Regions from separate parts of the Homo sapiens genome. Here regions 1 and 2 are each linked to region 3. Evidence: promoter capture Hi-C in human tissues and cell types (Jung and others, 2019). All regions are on one chromosome and are shown on one strand. The core of a region is centred on a gene start or on the middle of the fragment in contact, and the rest is flanking DNA. Distances in the headings are between cores, read along the strand shown. Region 1 has its middle 9.7 kb from the start of WFDC11. Region 2 holds the start of WFDC6 (WAP four-disulfide core domain 6). Region 3 holds the start of PI3 (peptidase inhibitor 3).

The links. The method cuts DNA at HindIII sites, captures the fragments that hold promoters and counts their contacts. A contact is called where the count stands out against the background at its distance.
Region 1: a contact is called between a fragment that was not itself captured here and the fragment with the promoter of PI3 in region 3, in 2 of the 25 tissues and cell types used here (dorsolateral prefrontal cortex and spleen).
Region 2: the fragment with the promoter of WFDC6 here is called in contact with the fragment with the promoter of PI3 in region 3 in 2 of the 25 tissues and cell types used here (mesenchymal stem cells and stomach).

The regions. Positions count from the first base shown.
Region 1 is chr20:45,678,562-45,681,261 of GRCh38, forward strand. No RefSeq gene overlaps it. Among named protein-coding and RNA genes, the nearest start is that of WFDC11, 9.7 kb to the left of the region's middle. The HindIII fragment of the contact is 5,827 bases long and covers 1-2,700 here.
Region 2 is chr20:45,538,037-45,540,736 of GRCh38, forward strand. It overlaps WFDC6 (WAP four-disulfide core domain 6), which reads right to left and starts at 1,446. Exons shown (of 3, transcript NM_080827.2): 1 at 1,281-1,446; 2 at 1-58. The coding sequence starts at 1,371. EPPIN-WFDC6 (EPPIN-WFDC6 readthrough) reads right to left here. Exons shown (of 5, transcript NM_001198986.2): 4 at 1-58. It overlaps EPPIN (epididymal peptidase inhibitor), which reads right to left. Exons shown (of 4, transcript NM_020398.4): 4 at 2,590-2,700. LOC107987282 (a long non-coding RNA gene) reads left to right here. Exons shown (of 4, transcript XR_001754641.3): 3 at 500-643; 4 at 2,039-2,351. It also overlaps the pseudogene HSPD1P21. The HindIII fragment of the contact is 28,992 bases long and covers 1-2,700 here.
Region 3 is chr20:45,173,606-45,176,305 of GRCh38, forward strand. It overlaps PI3 (peptidase inhibitor 3), which reads left to right and starts at 1,297. Exons shown (of 3, transcript NM_002638.4): 1 at 1,297-1,396; 2 at 2,256-2,531. The coding sequence starts at 1,318. The coding sequence ends at 2,530. RefSeq lists an enhancer at 887-2,086. The HindIII fragment of the contact is 10,589 bases long and covers 1-2,700 here.

The sequences.
Region 1 (2,700 bases), core at 143-2,642, 510 kb after region 3:
ACTATTGTTTCTCAGTGTGGGAAAAACTTAGGTGGGTACTGAAAATCTTGACCTTTTAGTTGTTTCTGGGCCAGGGAAAAGCTTCACATGTGCACCTGGGCTTTGTGGATTTGGGCCTTCCCATAAATTTTGTCCCCTACAATACTCTGGCCCCCCCACCAGTCTCTTCAATATGGCATCCCCACTGATCAAAGCACTGAACAATCACCAAGATCCACATGCCAGTTGCTGCAATCAGTGACCTACTCTTTGTCCCCAATTCACCCCAGGTTTTTCAGCCCTCTTGGTTCTCTAGTGGGATGAAACTGGAGTGGACTTACCATTAAGATTCCTAGACAAGTGGGAAGATCAAATATCCACCTCCAATTCCTTCTTCTCATCTCAGCAACTGTGGGTCTAGGGAAGTTCTCTGTGAGTGGTATTATTATGGCCTGGGAGAGAGGGTGGAACAGGCTGAAATGACCATTTCTCTTACCTGTCACTGCTTCTCTCAATTCTATGAGCCCAGGGGGTTTCTCTGCTTCTCAAGTTCTGGTGTATTCAGGGTGGCATTCTTGTCTTTGAATAGTTTTTCATTTTATTTTTGTGTCAGGAAGTGATCCCAGGAGATCTATTCTGCCATCTTGCTGACATCACTTCCCAGTTTAGTCCTGAGGTATCAGGGATGGATTAAGAAGCACATGGCTTTCCCCATCCTGGGAAAATTCTCCAGGACAGGGCAAACCAGCTCTTGCACCAGAGACATATCCACAGAGTAGCCTTTCTTGTATTGTCACTCTCTGCAGCTCATATCCTTGTGCTGGGCTGTGAGGCAGGCACTAAGGACACTCTTTAGGTAACAGTGGAACGCAGAACAAAGAGAAGTCAAGCTAGCCTCAGAGAAGAGAAAATTTGTCTTAAGTTTTTGATATCACAATCTGCATCTTTTTATAATTTGTATCCCTTGACAAATTATTGTAGGTTTCATTGTTTTTAATAGCTTTGCCTTTTAATGTTATTAAAGATATAATTTATTTACCCACTGACATTACAGTATCAGAGTATTTTGGATTTCACAATGTATTTACTTTTATCAGTGAATGTTATACTTTCATATGTTTTCCAGTCACTAATTAGTGTCCTCTTCTTCAGCTTGAAGAACTCTCTTTAGCACTTCTTGTAAGGCAAGTCTAGTAGTAATAAACTCTCTCAGCTTCTGTTTGTCTGAGAAAGTCTTTATCACCCCTTCATTTTTGAAAGAAAAGATTTCTGGGTATAGTATTCTTGGTTGACAGGGTTGTTTTATTCAGGATTTTTAATATAACATCCCACCCCCTTCTGGCCTACAAAGTTTCTGCTGAGAAATCTGCTGATAATCTAAGGGAGGGTTCTCTTGTGTGTAGCAATTCACTATTTCCTCACTGTTTTTAAAACTTTCTCTGTCTTTTTGCATGTATGGCAGGGGGAGGGTGGTGAGTATTCTGGTTTCTTCCATCCTATGGTGAAGGTGAATGCCAGTATTTATCTCTCCCTCTCTCTGCACTAAGCTGGAGAGATAATCTGTGACAAATGCCTATACTTGTGTCCAAACTGCACCCTCTGATCCTGGTGAGATAGCTGCTTGATATGGTTAGAATCTGTGTCCCCATCCAAATCTCATGTCAAGTTGTAATCCCCAATGTTGGCGGTGGACCTGGTGAGAGGTGATTGGATCACGGGGGTAAATCCTTCATGAATGGTTTAACATCATCTCTTTGGTGCTGTTCTCATGATAGTGAGTGAGATGTGGTTGTTTAAAAGTATATAGTACATCCCTCACCCCGCTCCTCCTCCAGCCATGTGAAGATGCCTGCTCTGGCTTTGTCTTCTGCCATGAGTAAAAGCTCCTGAGGCCTCCTCAGAAGCAGATAGTGCCATGCTTCCTGTATAGCCCATAGAACCATGAGCCAATTAAACCTCTTTTCTTTATAAATTATGCAATCTTGAGTATTTATTTATAGCAATGAGAGAATGGACTAATACATGCTGAAAGTGGGCCCGTTGTATGCCCATGTCTTTGTTTTCTGTAGTCCCAGGCCGCTTAGGAATGCAAAGTCTCATTGGGAATGCAAAGCCCCATTAGTCCCCAGAGCTAGGTTGATAAGGAGACAGTCCCTTGGGTGGAAACTATAGAAGCTTAGGTACTCAGTACACGGACAAACTCCTTCCAGGAAGAATGGGTCGACTGGATTTATCACTGGGATGAGCCAAAGGAAAGGCTCAGAAAGTGCTCAGCTCAAGCTCAGGATGACAGGGAGCTACTTTCTCCCCTTAGGTCCTCAATGCAAATTCATTAAAAGCAAGGTCATCAAGTAGCCACCAATAGAGTAAGCAGGAAACCCCTTGCAAAGAGAAAATGGGAGCTCAGCATTCTAGTCCCTTTTCTACACTGCTCCCAGGAGATGTAGACCCTGGCAGTGTTATTATGTCCATTTAAAACCACCTTTTTGGCTGGGTGCAATGGCTCAGCCTGTAATCCCAGTACTTTGGGAGGCTGAAGTGGGTGGGTCACTTGAGGTCAGGAGTTCAAGACCAGCCTGGCCAACATGGTGAAACGCTGTCTCCACTAAAAATACAGAACATTAGCCAGATGTGGTGGTGCATGCCTGTAGTCCCAGCTACTTGGGAGGCTGAGACAGGAGAACCGCTTGAACCCGGGAGGTGGAGGTTGCAGTGAGCCAA
Region 2 (2,700 bases), core at 196-2,695, 360 kb after region 3:
TTGGTACACTGGTCTATTTCTTCCACTTCGCATTCCACTTTGATTTTGGGACACGGCTCTAAGGGAGGGGAAGATATATTCCCTCAAGGCCTTAAAGGAGCCAGTGCTCCCCCTCCCCGAGACCAGGGCACCCCTCCAGAGTTAGAGAACTTTGTTTCCACTTCACCTATCCCCAGAAGGTAGTGGCCCTCAGGGGGCTCAGGAATTTCACAACACTGCTCACATCCCCAACCCCATAACAACTCACCATCGGATGCCTAAACCAACCCCTACCCCCTACCCGCACCATCTATGAGATTCCTGAGAGAAAGACGCATTCCTCTAAGACTGTTCTGGTCACTCAGCCTTGCTGTGCTTGGTTGCTCCCCCAGGAGGTGCTGTGGCTCTCGATGATTGAGATTAACATTTCTGGCATCAGATAGCTGGGCTTTTGAATTCTGTGAGACGCTTGGTGTGCCAGGCACTCTCTCTGAGCCTTGATTTCCTCATTTGCCCATAGGGTTGCTTTGAAGACTAACCAGCAACACAGTTTGACAAGCCATCGTCAAACTGCCTGGGGCAATGTAACGTAACAATGAGTAATATGGATGAAGCACTTACTGTGAGCTGCCTTTTCTCCTTAATCCTCATTACAAATCTATGGGTAAGTACTCTTAATATTCACATTTTGTAAACAGAAGAATTGGAAGCATAAGGAGATTATGTGAATTTGCCCAAGATCACACAGCTACTCAGGGGTGGAGCCAGGTTTGAACCTACAATGTGTGGCTCCTGAGTGCTCACTTTCAACCACTAATTTTCAGTGCCCAGTACAGTTAGCTGCTAATTGTGAGTCTTCACATTTCAGCATTCCAAGGGACTTCTGGAGACCATTCTTTAACCCAAAGACCAGGGTCCTCTGTGGGTATGGGTGTGGGGGCTGCAATGAGAACATTTGGAAGTTGACACAGGTGGTGTTGTGGGGAGCAGCCTGTTTTTCTTGTGGGAGACTTCCTTGGGCTTACTACTCCTTCTTAGTTCATTTCATGAGCTCTAGGTCCAGGCACCTCCAGGAAGAACTCTTTGGAATGGCAGCAAGGAGTCACTTGCCACAGATTTGGATGCCTGTATTCACCAAGGGAGTCTCTTACCAAGAGACTTCAAATAGCTCCCCTCTTTCCCACCTGGAATTCCAGGCAGAGGTGGAGAAAATAATTTCTCAGCTGCAAAATTATTCTTTGTTCCTTCCTCCCCACTGAGTTTCCTTTCCCCATTGCAAGGACGGAGTTCCCAATACTTACTGCCAAGGATGCCTTCAGCGTGCCCAGGTTCCTGGATGTCCCCCAAAAGGATGAATGGTACCAGGATTGGCAGAAGTCCTGAGAGTCCCATTTTAGGAAGTACTGGCCTGGTTGATGGCACCAAAACTAAGAACTGCTCCTCAGCAGCTCCTACATCTGCACTTTGCCTGCCCCGGTGTGGCCCAGCACCTTAAGAGACAGCCCTGGAGACAAGCCAGCCAGACTCCCCGATCAGGAACACCAGATCCCTGAGGCCATCAGTGGGACTACCTGGTACCTACACTGGGGGATAGGTGGCTCCTAATCCTCAGCAATCTGAGGCTTTCTGGTCTACCAGGGAAAGAGGGCACATGTTGTCTTGGGCTTTCCAGGCTCCCTTAGCAGAAGGGGAGGTTTAACTCCAGAGTCTTCCATTTCCCAGGGGGAGTTTGCAGGTTAACAGTATGCTAGCTCTCTTCCTTCTTTCTAATTTCACTCTTCTCCTGACATGTCTATTCTTATGTTTTATTTTTCTCACTCTGTTTCTTCTCTTTTCTGTGCATCTGTATGTCTTTTACTCTGTGCCTGTCTTTTTCTCAGGGAGTCTCTGTCTGTCTGAGTCTCTTTCTCCCCGCCCTTCACTTCCCTCTCTCTTCTTTCGTATGTAAAGATCAGTTACATTTATCCTTTAAGTCGTTTGATTTTGCAACAGTAAATAACTTCTTTCATTACTTTGGGACTTCTCCAACTCTGTTCTCCGTTTTTCCCTGTTGTCACAGCTACAGCATTGGATTAAAAGTCACACCCTGAAGCATTAACGCTTGAGCATCTGTACCAAGTTTTATATCCTTGGTATAAGCCCGAAGGAGGTGAGGAGCCAGTTACCTGGGCATCAGTTCCATCTGGCAAAGGACTGTGGGTAATGGAAGCATTTCTGCAGGGTGGCAGCAGGGTGTGTGTGCAGCAAGGCATGTCATCAGTGGTGAGTGAGAAGTTCATTCCTTTTTATGGCCGAATAATAGCCAATGCACATTGACAGCCTCCTACCTCTAGCATCAGTCCCTAATTTTCTGCTGTGGGTTTTCTCTGGCCCCCAGGGAGCTTGTATAGCTTGCAAGTATAACAGTTTGAAAGAGCGAGGGATTTAGTATCCCTGGCATCCAGTGGGCGTTGGGAATCAGTGGACAAATAGCTTAGCTTTCCCATCACTGGAGACAGATTAAGAAAATTTGTGGTCTGATATCCAGAATCTACAAGGAACTTAAACAAATTTACAAGAAAAAAAACAAACAACCCCATTGAAAAGTGGGCAAAGGACATGAACAGACACTTCTCAAAAGAAGACATTTATGCGGCCAACAAACATATGAAAAAAAGCTCAACACCAGTGATCATCAGAGAAATGCAAATCAAAACCACAATGAGATACCATCTCATGCCA
Region 3 (2,700 bases), core at 47-2,546:
CTTTCTTAACTCAGATTCTGTCCCTGACAATACCCAACTTCAGGATATTCATTTCTATTACTCAGAACTTTTGGTAACAATGACAGAATAGTAAGTCAGACTAGCTGAAGCAGAGGGCTAATTTATTGCCTCATAACCCAACCATGAGAAGGGTGTGTGAAGAACTGCTCTCAAGGTAAAGGAGGGAAACCTGGCTGTGTCATCTGAATCTTCTCTCACCATCACTTCTCTCCTTGTCTCAGTGTATTAGAGTCGTTTTTCTCAGACAATTGATCTCCACCCCCAGACTTAGATAACCACTTCTGGAATTCCCTGGTTCATATATATCACCTTTTCCAGAAGAAGGAACCCCCGTTTTCCCCTTTCATTACTCATTCAAATAAAATATGTTAATAGACCAGACCAAGTCTCACACACAACACACACACACACACTCACACACACACACACACACACACACCCCTACCTGTGGTCAGGGGTCAGGCTTTCATGATTAGCAGTCCCCATTAGACTCACAAGTTGATGGTTCAAAGAGACAACAATTCTTCACAAGAAACAGGGTGCTGTTCAAAGAAGTGGGGAGGCATGCTGGACACACACACTGTAGATGTCCAATGTATACATGATACATGTTTTCTACTACTTTCTGATTATTTTCTCCCTACCACTGTGATTTCAAGGGCATCATCCCTCTTCAGACCTAGAATTCCACCTTCCAATTACTTTCTTGATGCATCTGAAAGGCCGTCTCTGAAACAGCAAAGTGCAATAATTAGTCATTATGTATTCAAGGCAAATTTGTCTTACAGAGTTTTTTGCAGGACCAGGGAAGAAGGAAGGAAATGCCCAGTTTGATGCTGGGAGTGGTAAAATGATAAAGTAGATCTGGGTGGGGTTTGTAGCACCAGAGCATAATGGAGAAACACCTTGGTTTTGTAATCAAGACTGGATCTACCAGTGACTTGCTGAATAACCTTCGGTGATTCCTTTCTCTTCTTGGGTCTCACTGTATTTCAAAACATGAAGAATTTCATTGTAATGTTACCTAATAAGTGAGCCAGCACTTCTACTCTGTGAGAAAGTAGGAAAACTCTTGGGACAATCAGAGATGATGTGATGTAATGTCCATTAGTTCTTCCTGTGAATAATCCTGAGGGAAAGCCCCCAGGTCCCTCCCAGAATGGGGTGGATATTTCCCAATACAGCTAAGGAATTATCCCTTGTAAATACCACAGACCCGCCCCTGGAGCCAGGCCAAGCTGGACTGCATAAAGATTGGTATGGCCTTAGCTCTTAGCCAAACACCTTCCTGACACCATGAGGGCCAGCAGCTTCTTGATCGTGGTGGTGTTCCTCATCGCTGGGACGCTGGTTCTAGAGGCAGCTGTCACGGGAGGTGAGTGAACAGGTGACCTGCTGGGCTGGGTTGGACTAAGGGGAGACCCTCTGGGACACCCTGGGCCAGGACAGGGAGCACTTCTGAAGCAGTAGGCAGCACTGGAGCCCAGATTTCAGCTTTCTGTTCTTTGCCATCATATTCAGAAAAAATAGGACTTTGGCTGGTGGACTCCACGTGCTTTCCACCTCAGTGACTGAGATATCAGGACTGTTTGTGGAAGTAATGTTGGTATGTGGCCTTGGCCTCAGATGTCAATACCTGTGCAGAATGTGCAATAAAATAATGAACTCCAGGATTTTAAACCTTGGGTGTGGACACAGTCCCCCGTTTCTCTGCCCCATAAAAGCACTGGAGTAATCAGTACTCTAAAAGGAGGTTAAGAAACAACAAGCCTTCAGGAATCATGTTGTTTGAGGACCCCCATTTTATAAGGAGGGAACCAAAAATGTAGAAATGAGTGAGCAATTGCCAAGGTAATTCCCAGAGCCAGGATGGGGCTCAAGTCTCCTAGTATGTGGCTCAGGGTTCTTTCCTACTCCAATGCACTTCCTAACAAATGACAATGTGTCCTCTTCACTGCTGGGTGTCACCCCAGTCTGACCACTGCTCCTGAGAGACTTGGAGTGGAGGAAGGGGGAAGAAACAAATACTCAAGGGAACTCTGGTCCAGTAGACCACCCCAAAAAAGGAAGAGCCTTCCAAGAGTGTAGCTCCCAGAGGTGTACCTTCCCTACTCAGGCCATGGTTTGAGGATGCTGCAGTAAGCAGTGGATGGACCCAGACCCAGAGGAAAGACATGGCAGCTGAAGCAGAGGCTTACTGGGTATAAATGTGGGCTCGTTTCTTCTTTTAACAGTTCCTGTTAAAGGTCAAGACACTGTCAAAGGCCGTGTTCCATTCAATGGACAAGATCCCGTTAAAGGACAAGTTTCAGTTAAAGGTCAAGATAAAGTCAAAGCGCAAGAGCCAGTCAAAGGTCCAGTCTCCACTAAGCCTGGCTCCTGCCCCATTATCTTGATCCGGTGCGCCATGTTGAATCCCCCTAACCGCTGCTTGAAAGATACTGACTGCCCAGGAATCAAGAAGTGCTGTGAAGGCTCTTGCGGGATGGCCTGTTTCGTTCCCCAGTGAGGTGAGCACTAGCTGGAGAACGAGGAGACCCCTGAAGACACAAAAGAAGGCTGAGCGGTGGGGAAGCATCCCAGGTTGGTGGGAGGGAGGTTGTGGGAGGTGACAGAAAGACTGGGAGACTGAGGGGTCTGAGAGGCTATAACCAGAGTGCCTAGAAGGATGATCTGTCT